2 separate regions of the Homo sapiens genome follow, and region 1 is linked to region 2. Evidence: promoter capture Hi-C in 16 types of primary human blood cells and fetal thymus (Javierre and others, 2016). All regions are on one chromosome and are shown on one strand. Each heading gives the region's core, a stretch centred on a gene start or on the middle of the fragment in contact. The rest is flanking DNA. Distances are from core to core; before and after follow the strand shown.

Region 1 (6,956 bases), core at 1,432-3,931, 56 kb before region 2:
GGTAGGGCACCCACTCCTGCACGAGGCAGCCCTGCTGCTGTTAGTAAGTCTTTTCCTTACATTGAACTCATCTGCCTCCCTGACGCTGATCTTTCATCTGCCCTGTGGGGCCACCCACACGTAAACCCTCCTCCCAAAGAATTGTGATGAAATAACTGCTTCTATTTACCAAGCACTCACTATGTGCTAAGCATGATGCATACTTTTTTTTAACTTACATCTTCGCCACAACAGCCCTGAGAAGGAGGCACTCAGTAAGAATTGCCATTATTTGCCCAAAGTCACACAGTGAGTAATGCAGAGTGGGATGTGAACCGAGTCAGAGCCCGCGTGTCCTGGGCCTTCCAAGCCTTCTGTCCACCAGGCTGTGCATCCCAGTTCCTTGAACTGTGTCTGAGAGCCTCCTCTCGCCACCCTGAACGGGATCCCATTGGTTAACATCTCCAAAGGTCAGAGGGGTGAGCCCAGAAGGCCCCATTTCGGGAGCAGCCTGACCAGCCCAGACTCCTACAGTGCTGTGCCTTCCTCATACCTACCTAGTGAGTGCCATATGGTGTGGGCACCCACCAGGCCCTGCCACTTGTTATACCTGAGAAGTCTCATCTCAGCCACTTTGCAGAATTGCTGAACATTAAGTGAGATACTGGTGGAACAATGACTACACATAATAAGTACTAGCTGTATTTATTCTGGCTCAGGACCTGGAGAAAAATGGCCGCCTTCTCCTCCCTGTGGGAGGCTAAGGGCAGATGACTACCTACTTGACTCTGTTTCTCTCTCCTTGCCCTAAAGGTGAATCTGGGCCTCCTGCTATTCTCACTCCTGGGATTCCTGTTGCCTTCCTACCTCTTCTATTACCGTGCCCGGCTCCAGCAGGAGTACGCCGCCAATGGGATGGGCCCACTGAAGGTGCTTAGCGGCTCTGAGGTGACCGCATAGACTTCTCAGACCAAGGGACCTGGATGACAGGCAATCAAGGCCTGAGCAACCAAAAGGAGTGCCCCATATGGCTTTTCTACCTGTAACATGCACATAGAGCCATGGCCGTAGATTTATAAATACCAAGAGAAGTTCTATTTTTGTAAAGACTGCAAAAAGGAGGAAAAAAAACCTTCAAAAACGCCCCCTAAGTCAACGCTCCATTGACTGAAGACAGTCCCTATCCTAGAGGGGTTGAGCCTTCTTCCTCCTTGGGTTGGAGGAGACCAGGGTGCCTCTTATCTCCTTCTAGCGGTCTGCCTCCTGGTACCTCTTGGGGGGATCGGCAAACAGGCTACCCCTGAGGTCCCATGTGCCATGAGTGTGCACACATGCATGTGTCTGTGTATGTGTGAATGTGAGAGAGACACAGCCCTCCTTTCAGAAGGAAAGGGGCCTGAGGTGCCAGCTGTGTCCTGGGTTAGGGGTTGGGGGTCGGCCCCTTCCAGGGCCAGGAGGGCAGGTTCCCTCTCTGGTGCTGCTGCTTGCAAGTCTTAGAGGAAATAAAAAGGGAAGTGAGAGACTGGCTGGTGTGCGCCTGTCTTTGGCGGTTGGTGGGGGGTGTCTTCCCACACCCCCATCCTTCTTCACCCAGGCTCAGCTGGGCATTAACTAGGACGCTTGGCATGCCAGCCCGTTCGCCTCTGGCTGTCTGGCTCACCTCCCTGTTCCCAACCATGCCCTGCCCTTAGTGCTTGGAGGGAGTCCAGCTCCTGCCCCCTACTTCCCAGGATTTGGGGTACATCCAGGAAGCTGGCTTTTCTCCATACAGAGGATTAGGACAGAATGCTTTAGAAAGAATGCTAAGGTATGACTCAAACTTCCCACCATAGCATCCCTAGGGCCTGCCGAAAGTAACACTTTTTTGGAGTCTCCTATTTTATCTTAAAACTTTATGCAAATTTTGAGCTTCCTTGTTATACTATATTTACATTTACCTTTAACATTAAAGTGAGGCTTTAAAGTAAATAAATAAATAACGTGAAGCTTTAAAATTATCTATATCAAGAGAAGACACCATCAGTGAGGACAAGAGATCCTGCAGAAAGACATACCTTATTTATCCAGCCCTGCACCTGCTTGTGCCTCTGGGACATAAGCCCTGGAGGTTAGAGCAAGTCCCCAAATGAAGGGAAAACTAACATTGGTTTAGGATCTGTCTGTTCTACACAGCTATCTCATTTTATCCAAACTATAGCCTAAGAGGTTGGTGTTGTCATTCTTTCTTGTCGCTGTAGGAAACAAGCCCAGAGAGGTTAAGGCACACACCCAAGGGCACACAGTGTTAGGTGGTGGAGCTCAATTTGGAACCTCGGCAGTCTGTGGAAAGGATAGCTCTGCAGAAAGGAGGTCCCAAGCTTCTTTCCGGTTCTCAGCTGCTCCTGGGGCCAAGAGTGACCTCAGAGGCCTTGGCCATCTCCCCCACCTCCAAAGGTTGGCTCTGTAAGACAGCATTCCAGCTAAGCCATTTTCCCTCCCTTTGTCTTTGTTTCTCTTGAGAAGTTAATAAGAGAGACTGTCCCCTCCGTTTTCAGATAGGAAAACCTGTCCTCAGGGGTCTGGAGACTTGGCAAAGTCACATCGCAGATCCCTGCTGCTCTGAGCCCAGACTCCCGACTTCCAACACTGACTTTTTTTGTTTTTGTAAAGTACAAAATCAGAATTGGCTAGCACCCACCAGCGGGTTCGGCTGGCTTTCAGTAGGCTTGCCGGGGTCTCTGCACTCTGTGTCCGGGATCCTCAATTTGCGAATAGTCTGGGGAGGCTGAGCGCGAGCCAGGAGCGGACCCGGGGGTGGGGGTAAGCGCCACGTGCGCGCCAGGTCCTTGGTGTGCCCGGCAGGCGGCGCTGCGTGGCTGCGGCTGGCTCCGAGGGTGCGGGGGGCGGCGACCCGGGAGGGAAAACCCCTGCCTCTTCCCGGGGCTTGCTCTGCCCGTCCTTTAAACTCGCCCTACACCCTCCCCGACTCCCGTCCTTGCAAGCGTTATCTGCAGCCTCACCGGCCCTCGCAACGGTGGTGGTGGTTGGTGGGGGGTCTCGAAGCTTGCCTCTGGCCAGCCGGACCCCGGTGGGAGATGGAGGCAGAAATTCCGGCCTCCTAGGAGAAGGGCGTCTGCTCACTCCCCCACTCCCCGGGGCTTGGGGAGGGGGCTGGGCAGGGGCGGAAGCGAGCTGGAGCCGTGTTTGTCGCGGCGCTGCGGAGTGGAACAGATGGCTGGGGAGGGGAGAGGGTGCGTGGCGGGGAGGAGGAGGGGTGCGGGGGCCGGAGGATAGGGAACGAGGAATTTCGAAGCCTGGAGTCTCCCAGGAGAAGCCCCCCTCCCCGTCTTTTCCCAGAAAGGGGGGCATATATGCGCCTGCCTTTTTCCCGGAGAGCCCTGGCCTCTGCCCTGTGGCAGACCCTGCCGCGCAATCCTCTGCCCCAGGGCGCGCCCCTCACCCCCAAACCCCCGCCGCGGGACGGGGTGGCGGGGTCAGGACCGCCAGGAGCGGCCCGGGTCGCGAGGGTTAATGGGGCCGCCCTCCCAGGGGCGAGGAGGCGGCGGGAAACGGGCTCGGGGTGGGGAACGAGTTCTGGGATCGCAAATAGCAAAGGAAAAACATGTTAATTGGAGCTTTATGCAGATGAGCTAGGACTGGGGACTGTGGGGTAGAAGGAGGGACAAGGTCGGACCTCGAGGAGCGTTGGTGGGCTCTGGCCGGGGGAGTGATGGACGCCTATCCAGGTATCTGCGTGTTGAGCCTCCCGGGAAGGCCGCTGGTGCCCGGGGATGAGAGGCTTCCTCTCTGACCCACCCCCCAGAAACAAGGTTGGGGGCTCTCCAGGGTCTCCACGTCCTCGGTCTCAGATTGCCACGAAGAGAGGGCGGGGTGCACCCTGCAAGTGTCTGCTTCGGTTTCTGGCTGCTGACCTGTCTCACCTTGGCTGTGGCCCCCTCCTCCCCGGTCTGGCTTGGTCTCCACTCACTTTGCCTCCTCTATCTGTTACTCCCCACACCTGGCATCACCCTTTCCACTCGGTATTGTCTGAAACCTTCCCCAAGTGTGACCCCTTCCCCCTTTGCATTTTCCTTTCTGCCCCCCACAGAACCACTCCACCTTTGAGGCGTGTCTCAAACTTTGGAGTGCTTCATAACCCACCTCCGCTTGCTAAAATGCAGATTCCAGGGCCCCCTTAGCTATCTGATTCAGCAGATCTGAGGGGCTCAGGAATCAGCTTCCTACTTAAATCAGATGCAAAAGGCCCTTATTTTATAGAAACACTGGGCAAGGGATTGGTGGGCTGGAAAGATTGGGTAAGTCTCCTTTGACAGCCCCCACCCCTTCCTCAGTGCTCACCTCTCCACACAGGAGAATTGAAACTTTCACCAAGTGCAGTCCTCTCTGCTTCTGTATGATGATACCAGGCGTGGAGAAGATGGAGGGAAGGAAGGAAGGAAGGAAGGAAGGAAGGAAGGAAGGAAGGGAGGGAGGGAGGGAGGGAGGGAGGGAGGGAGGGAGGGAGGGAGGGAGGGATGAAGGAATGAGTCTGTGCCTGGCTCTTCTCTCTCTGAGCAGGGTCTTCCCTTCCTCTCTCCACTGCCCACTTCCCTCCCCTCTGCTAGGGCTTCGCCATCTATCCTCCTCTCTCACTCCACCAGCCTTGCACACTTTCTTATTTCTCTGCCACCTCCTCACCTGAAGTTTCTACAAAGGCCAAAGGATCTTGAGGTGGGGAGTTTGGGCCTGAAGAGAAAGGGGAGAACCAACCAAAGTTCCTACCTTCGAAGCAATAGCCAGAGACATCTTTGGGGTTGGAAGAAAAGCTGGAAGAGGGAGGCAGAACTTGAGGAAAGAGAATAATAACAGCAAGCATGTAGGTCACTTTGCCATGGGCTATTGCACTGAGTCCCCACAACAAATTGATTTAGGCTGGCACTATTGTCCCCAGCTTACAAAACAAAAACAAACCCACAGAACTCTAATGTTCAGAGAGGTTAAGTAACTTGCCCAAGGTCACACAGCTTACTAGTGGGAACATAACTAGGTCATTTACCCTTCTACTGTCCCAAAACCGTTTCTCCAGAGGCCACTGAATATCTGTCCCAGGCCTGCCCTCCTGCAGGGGCAATGGGGTTGGAGAAGGGCATCATGTACAGAGGTGAAAGGAGATGCTCAGTTTTCAGAACATCTGACAAGTCTATCTGGAAGCATTAAAAATTCATATAGAAACCTGACCCCAGCTGGACCTTGGGCCTGCCACCTGGTCTATCCCTGGCCTCCTGGACTCTCAGAGTCTGTTGGGAAATTTCCCTTCCACAGTGTCCTGAGAGTCCCAAGTCTGTATTTCATTGGAGAGGAGTTCCTCTCGGATTAGGGATCGAAAATTGGGAGCCCGCAGCTAGGGAAACAGGGCTGAGAACCGTCCCCCCCCTACTCTGGGTGTAAGAACCTTAGAGGCTTAAGGGCTTATAAACCTTATCATCTGGTGTCCTAGTCCTCTCCCCAGGCGGTTAGATGCTCATTCTCTGTTCTAGACGACTGAAGCCTGGCTGTGCTTCCCAAGGTGGCCAGTCGGGGGCAGCCGTCTGCTTGGAGGGAGCCAGAGCCTGAGCCTCTGTCTGCTGCTTTGAAGAACCCCTGTATATGGTCAGAGAGGTGCAGTCTTGGCCTTGGGAAAGGGCTCTGGAGTCTGAGATCTGAGGAGGGGGAAGAGGTTTCCTACTTCAGGAGAGACTGAGAAATTTTAGGGGGGCACTCAAAGTCGGTTGGTGGGTTTCACATACATGATAACTGGTGGCCAGTATGATACAAACGTTCTAGCTGGAGTGAAGGTTTGGGATGAGATTGTGAGAGAAAAGGCTAGAAAAGCAGTTGGTACCAGACTCTGAGGGATCTTTGATGCTCTGCTAAGGTGTTTTACCTTTACCCTATAGGCATTAGGAAGCCATTACAGGCTCCTGAGTGACATCATAACATATGCAAATTTTGATCAGATGAATCTGGTCACCACGGTATGGCTGGGTGGGAGGGAGGGAGAGATTCCATGTAGGAAACCAGCGAGGAGGTTATCGCAGTTTTCTTTTATATTCCAGGCATGAGGTAATGAGTAGCTGGAGCAGGGAGGTGGTGGGGAGAATGGGAAGGAAGGGATAGACTGTGGCTGGGTGGGGGACTGGGTAACTGAATAGATGCAGGAAATTAGAGAAAGGGAGGAGTTAATTACAACTAGGCTGGGTGTCTGGCAGACGAAAATGCAGAATGGGGGTACACTCAGAATGTGGGAGGTGAATGAATTTTGCTTTTTTCAGGGGATAGAGGAATCTCAGACAAATCCCTTCCTTTCTATGGCCTCAGTTTCCCCATCAGAGCATTGGTGGGGGTTGGGCTGGATGGCCTTGAACATCCCTCCTATCTCAGGGTGTGTGGGTCAAGGTGGTGAATCTGGGTTGTTTGGAGAGTTTGGGGGTCTGCGCATGTGAGATCGCTGGAGGTGATCTCTGCTGGGTCCTGATTGAGTGGGTGTGCATGTCAGTGTGCATGTCAGAATTTAGGGGACACCTGCCTGTTTGTGGGACCCGTGGGTGGTTGGTGTGCTTGCACGTGCTACATGGCTCTGCTTGGTGCGAGTGTGTGTGAGAGCTCGGGAGTGTGGGTGTGCACGTGATGGGCGTCCGTGGGTCTGTCTGGGCTGGTGGTGGGAGGGGTGGGGGTTGGTGGAGAGTGGCTTTGCTTCAGGCTTCTTCCTGAGGCTCACACACTCCTCTTGCTTTCACTGTTCTGAAATAGCATCTGGACCGATGGCCCATGAATATTTCACAATGATAATTCTATGACCTGGACAGCCTGCCTCTAATTTACCAGCAGCTCCCCTCCCCCTGCCCAGGCCCCAGCAGCCCCTCCTCCACCAGAGCTCTTGTCTGGCTGTCCCTCCAATCCAACCCATTAACCTCCTCACAGCCAGCCTGACACAAGCCCCTGCAAGACCCCAGACTCCG
Region 2 (7,062 bases), core at 3,791-6,290:
GACACAGAATCACAGAGAGGCAGCACTACTCTCTTGTTTTAATCAAGGGTGCTGTCTGAAAGAATTACCCATCTTCATTCCTATTAGTAATAACTGGTACCCCCATCAACCCGATTCCAGAACTCATGCTCTGTGTAGCTCTTGGGAAGCCTCCCAGGAAGGCTGGGTAGGGCACAGATTAAGAGCATCAGCTGGCTGGGCATGGTGGCTCACGCCTGTAATCCTAGCACTTTGTGGGGCCAAGGCAGGCAGAACACTTGAGCCCAGGAGTTTGAGACCAGTCTGGCCAACATGGCGAAACCCCATCTCTACAAAAAATGCAAAAAAATTAGCTGGGCATGGTGGTGCACGCCTGTAATCCCAGCTACTCGGGAGGCTGAGGCAGGAGAATCACTTGAACCTGGGAAGTGGAGGCTGCAGTGAACTGAGATCACACCATTTCACTCCAGCCTTGGTGACAGAGTGAGATGCTGTCTCAAAAAAAAAAAAAAAAAAAAAAAAAAAAGCATTAGTTTCAGTCAGAGCATCAGGTTTCTATCCCAGTCCTGACACTGCTACCTGGTGATGTTGGGGGAGTTGCTTCGTCCCTCTAGGCCTCAGTTGGCCCAGATAATAGATGCTAATAACAACACCTATCGTGAGATTCAGTGACAGATTAAGCAAAAAGCGCTTCGAATCAGATACATAGTCAGTGCTCAGTGCCCAGCAGGTATTATTGATATTCCTTATTTTTCTTCTCAGGGGTAGGACGTGCCTCCATGTTGACACAGTGTTCCCCAGCCTAGTCCTTAGAGTTGCAGGTTTAGATATTGTCAGTGCACTGAGGCATTCCTTTCTAGCAAAGTCTATCGGGAAGTGCAGTTACCAGTAAACAGTTGCTTGATGAACATAGAAGTGGAGCTGGGGCTTGGGAGGGTGGGTAGCAGTAGCCTCATAAGCCCTGGTGTGGTGGGGCTTGGGGCTCTGCTTTCTCTTAGGCCTGGCCCAGTGCTTCCAGTATCTGGTCTGGTGGGGGAGCTCTGTTTTCTGCATGGTGAAAGGGAGGCTGATCCAGGCTGATCCTCTGCTGCCTCTAGCATCCACTGAAGCTGAGCTGGCTGCTCTGAGGGGCCAGAGTGGCCCCCACCCTCCAGTGCCTCTTTGGGTATCCTTTCAGATTCACCTCTGTTAAAGAGAAAGGTCTCCCCAGAGCAAGGAGGCCTCATATTTACTTGGCTATGTAGTAGTTCCCCACCCTCCTGAGAACTGCTTTGAACACACTAGGAGATACCCTGAAGAGCCAGCTCTAAGACTCCATCCCCTTCCTGTCTACTGTGGCTCATGAACAGACTTCCCACAGCTTACAGGACAATCCAAGCCCCTGCCTTAAGCCCAGACAGTCTTGGGGGGTTGTACTGAGTGCATTTGGGTGTCATCTAGAGATCAGTTCTCTAGGGTGGGACTTCTTAAGCAAGGTAAACTGAGCTCACCCATTACTTAGTGGTTTTCCCCCTAATTTATTTCTTTTTTAGGTTAGGAACACTTTGAAATTCTCCCTAAATGTGACTTTATTTCCTCTTTGTTTTCCAGTAAGTCAATAATATTTGTTAACAACAGTAGCTGCTATTTATTAATAGTGTACTAATTGGGCAGTTTTCATACATTATCTTTAATCCATACAGCTCGATTCCAATTTTATAGATGAGGAGACGGAAGCTCAGAGATACCAGTAATTGGCTCGATAGCAGTGTGCTTGTATTATTTTTGGCACTGCCTCAAGAGGATTAGAATTTTCTCTGCAGGTGAAATGATGTTTGCATTTACCTTTTGCTTTCTGACTTCCAAAACAGGCTGTAGAAACCCCTTTCAAGACCGTAGGTGGAAAACCAAACATTTTAATTTACATGAGCCCATTGTGAAAGGAAAGCTTATGTTTGTTTGTTTATGTGTTTGGCGTATCCGAAATCAAAGCCCTTTATGTGAATGGCTCAGAGTTTATCTACATATACAAATTTAGAAAGTGATGTCAGAGGGTAGGAGAGAATATCTGGACTCTGCCCAGAGAGTGGCAATTGCCCTCGCTGAGGTTGTTCAGAGGAAGTTTGAGGAGAGAGGTCTGTGGACAGGCAGGGACTGCATTGGAAGGTGGTGCTCTTGAGGACTAGAGGATACTAGCCATTGTTTGTGCCAGGGGAATGATGGAGTGCAGCTCACTTATACTGCCCTCTTTGGCAAACCCTCTTTCCCTAACCTAAACATATCCATCTTCCCACTCTGTCCATAAAAACATCCATAGGGTGGATCCTGGATATCCAGACTTGCTGATGATGGGAAGGAAAACCACCTCCAGCATTGGTACTTGGGCAGTAGGATGCAGGAGATCCAGTTCTATGCTCCCTCTTCCCCTCAAAGCAATGTCTCATGGCTGGCATCCCCAGACCCTGGACTGGTCCTTACCAGCCAGTTGACTGGACCTCAGAAGGGTTTTGAGCAGTTAAGTGAAGCCATCCAGTGGGAACCATGGAAATAAACTCTTGCAGGAGAATGGCGATGGCTTGGAAGCAGATGATGCCTCTGTGAGAGATGATGAGTGTCTGCATAGAGCAGTGGCCACGGATAGATAGGAGAGATATTAAGGGGTGAAATCAATAGGACATGATTGATTGATGTGGGCTGAATTCTTAATGCCCTCACTTAGATGGCGACGCTGGCCTCAAATCTTTCCACTTTCTTCACCACCCTGTGCTCTAGCTGGTTCCTAAATGTTATTGTTTTGTTGAGGTTCCGTGCCTTTCAATGTGCTGTGCTAGCATCTGCCTGGAAGACCATTCCCACACTCCAGAAATCTTGGGTTTCTTTGTCTGTCTCTCCCACAAGAGAATGAGCCCCTTGAGAGCAGGCACTGAATCTCTTCTCTACGAATCCCGGCACTTGGCACAGAGCCTGAGGTACCACATGTATTTGTTGAACCAATCAGTCAATTAAAAAAAAAAAGGTGTGAGATGATGAGGAAGGAGGCGAAGAGAAAAGGATGAAGACATCGGGTGCACCGTCAGACCTTATTATAATCACTTCTCTCTCTGATGTTACTCATTAATCCTCATTGGAGCCACGCAGGAGAGTGATCAGAATAGCATCTGCCTTTTCTAGCTGCTGGAATTCGAACCAAAGAACATGGGAATGGTTCAGAGGATATTCTAATTTCCTGTCCCATCAGTTCAGTAAGACTTGTGTTAGTGGAGGCCACGTCTTCTGCAGACATTGATGGGAGATGTGGAGTGGAGGCTCTAAGAGTCAAGAGAGGTAACAAGATAAGGTGGACAGAACCCTGGACGACCTGCCCCGTGTCCCGTGCTTCAGTCCTGGATGTACAGATAGCCCATGAGCTAGATCTTTCTGGCAGGCTCCTGCAGATTAACATTCTAAAATCTGTCTCTTTACTTTGACTTTTTTCTGTTTCTCCCTTGCTACTTCCACACTTACTGATCCCCCCAGGAGACTAAAATGTATGCCAGAGCAGAAGATAGGGCATGCATTAATTTCAGAGTCTTTGTGTCTTGCAGTAAAATAGAAAATCTTGCATCTTAAGCCCTGTTTGTCCTGGGATGCTATATTTTTGTGGATTTTCTCCCATAAATAATGTTATTTTAAGAAAAGACTTGTTTTCTCTAATGTCCAAATGTTTGTTAAGACGGGGTGATGAGAGCATACGTTTCAGAGTTGGGAAGGTACTGCAGCTTTGTAGAATGACCGTGGGCAAGTTCCTTTGAAATTCCTCCCCAGAGCTGCTTCTCTGGCTCTGTCTACATAACTGCAGACTAGAAAATCTACTACCCTACAATCTGCCTATAGCACCTGCGCCATGCAGGGACCTCATACACCCATCTTATACTTCTTTTATGACAATTCCTATAATTAAGGTACTATTGTCCTCGTCTTACAGGTGGGGCAGCCAAAGAGCTTGCCTCAGGTTGTATAACTAGTGAGTAGCTTGGGGTACAGGACCCCAGCCACCCTTCCTCCATTCAGTCAAGTCACTAGGGTGGTTGCAGACTTTTATCTTTTGTGCTTTGGTGGTGAGCTGGAAAATCCTCAGTTCTGGCTGTCCCCTATCGTAACCTCTATTTCTTCCTCTTAAAAAAAAGAGGAGTGGGCTTGGAATAGCTGGAGTTCCTGGGCCCTCAGGGGATCCAGGTAGCTGGGGTTGGGAGTCTGCAGACTGCATCTAATACGCAAGAAGCTCTCCCCAAACTGAGCTTTTGGCAAGGAAACGGCCACACAGGCCAAAGAAGACGTCAGCTCACGTGCTCTGGGCTGGAAGGATAGTAAGGCAGCTGCTTAGTAAGGCCTCACGCTGATCACAAGCTCCGATGAGCAATTATATATGTCTTTGATTAATAAAAAATGGGGCAATGAATGGTTAATCAATGCAGTCTGGCGGGAAGGCTCTTTCAGAACCTGGGGGGCGGGGGTGAGGCAGGGAGTCATCTAAGGGGTTTTTGGGAGTGAAAATATGGGGCAGTCCTCCAGGGGATGGTTTCTGAAAAGCCCTCAGTCCTGGTTCTTGGCTTCCTGATTCTGTGGTTGGGATTTTTTTGGCAGCTCTGGGAGTGTGAAACTGGGAGAGACGGTTAAGCTGGTGAGCAAATAGGAAAAATATGTTCCCTGCCAACCCAGCGGTCAAGGCAAAATGCACAAATAGAGTGTGTGTGTCCCTATGCCCTCATGTGCTGTCTGTGTGTCCTCTGGGTGCTGGGTGTGACATTTTCCCTAGGTGGGCCTGAGCGAGTAACAGCATTCAACTAACTTGGTTAGGGGAGGCAGAGGCAAGGGGGCTGGGAGGCTGAAAGGCAGCGAGGAGGGAGGGAAAGACACCGCTGGGGTTCTAGGGGGTTCTAGAGGGAGAAGTTTCAAGAGGGAGAGGTAAAAAGGGCGCGGGAGGCTGTGAGCAAGGGAAAAGAAGAAGGAAGTGATGGAGAGTGGGAGGTCTGCCCCAGCCCCTTCCGGGCGGGCAGGAGGGGGCGGAGGCGAGCAGGGGACTGGGAGGGGCTGCGAGAGGCGCGAATGCGAACCTGGCCCGTGCGGAAAGGGCGCGGAGAGCCCCGGCGCGGAGCAGGCGGGTAGGGCGAAGGGTCCCCTTTCGGGCGCCATGGGGCGCCGAGCGCGGCCTGGCCCCTCGGGCTCCTCTGCGGGGAGGGCAGGCCGCAGGCTGGAGCGGGGTGCGGAGGCTGGCGGGGAGCGGCCCCCGGAGGCTTTCCTGGTAGAAGTTGATGCGAGGAAGGGCGGCGGGGACCAGGTTTGCGAGTCCTAGGCGAGGGTCATGGGAGTTGGGGGTATTTCTGGCAGTAGAATGGCCTGCGTCGTGACTAAACTAGCCCTGTGACCTTGGGCAAGTTCCTGAAATCCATGGGAGCTTTTGTTTCATTGTCAGTAAACTGAAGATAACACCAACTTGGCAGCGGGAGTTTGTGTCTTCTGTATGAAATCTCCCTGCCTCTGCACCTGGTTGAGTTGCTGTCATTATTTTAGGGGACGGTATTCAGAATTCGAGCGCAGGAGCTCCGCTTCTCCACCTGCTCCCGGGGAGCTATTGGGTAAGTCGTTTATCTCACCTGTGACTCCAGGTGGCCATCAAGACCTGCCTCTCTACTTGCCACGTGGTTACTCAAATGCAGTGCCTAAGATGATGTATTGGAGTATTTATTCCCCACATTTGCTGCCAGCGGCCATGATCATCCTGCCTCTTAATGCACCTCACAAATAACTCTAGTCTACCTTTCCCTTTCCCGCAGGCCTCCTCTTCCAGCAGCCTCTATCTTTATTCTACAGGATCCAGAGAATCACCCGCTGATGGTTTTTGCCCAGGCCTGAAACAACCAGAGAGCTACGGGAAAGGAAGGGCTTGGCTTGCCAGAGGAATTTTCCAAGTGCTCAAACGCCAGGCTTACGGCGCCTGTGATCCGTCCAGGAGGACAAAGTGGGATTTGAAGATCCACTCCACTTCTGCTCATGGCGGGCCAGGGCCTGCCCCTGCACGTGGCCACACTGCTGACTGGGCTGCTGGAATGCCTGGGCTTTGCTGGCGTCCTCTTTGGCTGGCCTTCACTAGTGTTTGTCTTCAAGAATGAAGATTACTTTAAGGATCTGTGTGGACCAGATGCTGGGCCGATTGGCAATGCCACAGGGCAGGCTGGTAAGGGCAGGGATGACTTTTCTAAGGAAGTTAAGTCTGGCTCCCACGTGGTGGCAAGGAGCAGGAAGGACTCTGCCCCCTGCCCACCCCTCTTTCTATGATGAGAGGAAGGGTCAGCAGCTCTCACCCCACTTGATCTGGGAAGTGCCTGGGAGGGAGGCACCAGCTCCTGAGGGGTAATTAGGGGCAGCCACATTTCAACTCAGCTTAAGGGACAAGTTTGCGACCGACAAGCTGTCTGAGGTGGAGGGGAGCCCAGCCTGTGTGCTCATTTGGCAGGAAGGCTGGGATGCATGGGAGACCTTTTTTCTACTCCAGACTGCAAAGCCCAGGATGAGAGGTTCTCACTCATCTTCACCCTGGGGTCCTTCATGAACAACTTCATGACATTCCCCACTGGCTACATCTTTGACCGGTTCAAGACCACCGTGGCACGCCTCATAGCCATGTAAGTCCCAAAGGCCAGCCCAGGCAAAGGTGGGTAAGAGGAATCCTTCAGGCAGCAGCCTAGCTTGGAGTGAAATCCAGAGTCAGACAGCCCGGCCACCCTGCCAGGCACCACACCTGCAGCTCGCTCCCAGCAGCTGTTAGGAACAGCCCCAGGCAGCGGGACTCTCTCTAGACTTGCCCACTTCACCACAGCCCCACTTCCATTTCCTTACCTCGTTCCCTGCTCTGCATAAATGTGGCTTCCCTATCACGTGCTGAATTGAGCCGGAGGCCAGGGTGACTTCCTGTAAGGGCTGGCTTGGAGCCAGGGTTACAAAATTAGCAAAACCTAAAATTGCTCTTCTCTTCCTTCACCCCAAGGATCCTTGTCCTCATCCCCTGCACAGCCTCACATCCAGGTTGCCCAGGCTTCATCCTCATCCTCCTCACCGCCCCCCCTC

Evidence for each region. The method cuts DNA at HindIII sites, captures the fragments that hold promoters and counts their contacts. A CHiCAGO score of 5 or more calls a contact.
Region 1: a fragment that was not itself captured here is called in contact with the fragment with the promoter of SLC43A3 in region 2 in 6 of 17 cell types (erythroblasts, monocytes, activated CD4 T cells and 3 more); the score reaches 13.1 in erythroblasts.

What each region holds. Positions count from the first base shown.
Region 1 is chr11:57,479,079-57,486,034 of GRCh38, reverse strand. It overlaps SLC43A1 (solute carrier family 43 member 1), which reads left to right. Exons shown (of 15, transcript NM_003627.6): 15 at 793-1,501. The coding sequence ends at 939. Among named protein-coding and RNA genes, the nearest start is that of RTN4RL2, 22 kb to the right of the region's middle. RefSeq lists a silencer at 2,691-3,020. The HindIII fragment of the contact is 685 bases long and covers 2,339-3,023 here.
Region 2 is chr11:57,425,099-57,432,160 of GRCh38, reverse strand. SLC43A3 (solute carrier family 43 member 3) reads left to right here and starts at 5,040. Exons shown (of 14, transcript NM_199329.3): 1 at 5,040-5,099; 2 at 5,509-5,573; 3 at 5,809-6,172; 4 at 6,491-6,620. The coding sequence starts at 5,989. RefSeq lists a silencer at 4,921-5,280 and enhancers at 5,523-6,315, 5,424-6,623, 6,316-7,062. The HindIII fragment of the contact is 9,438 bases long and covers 1,909-7,062 here.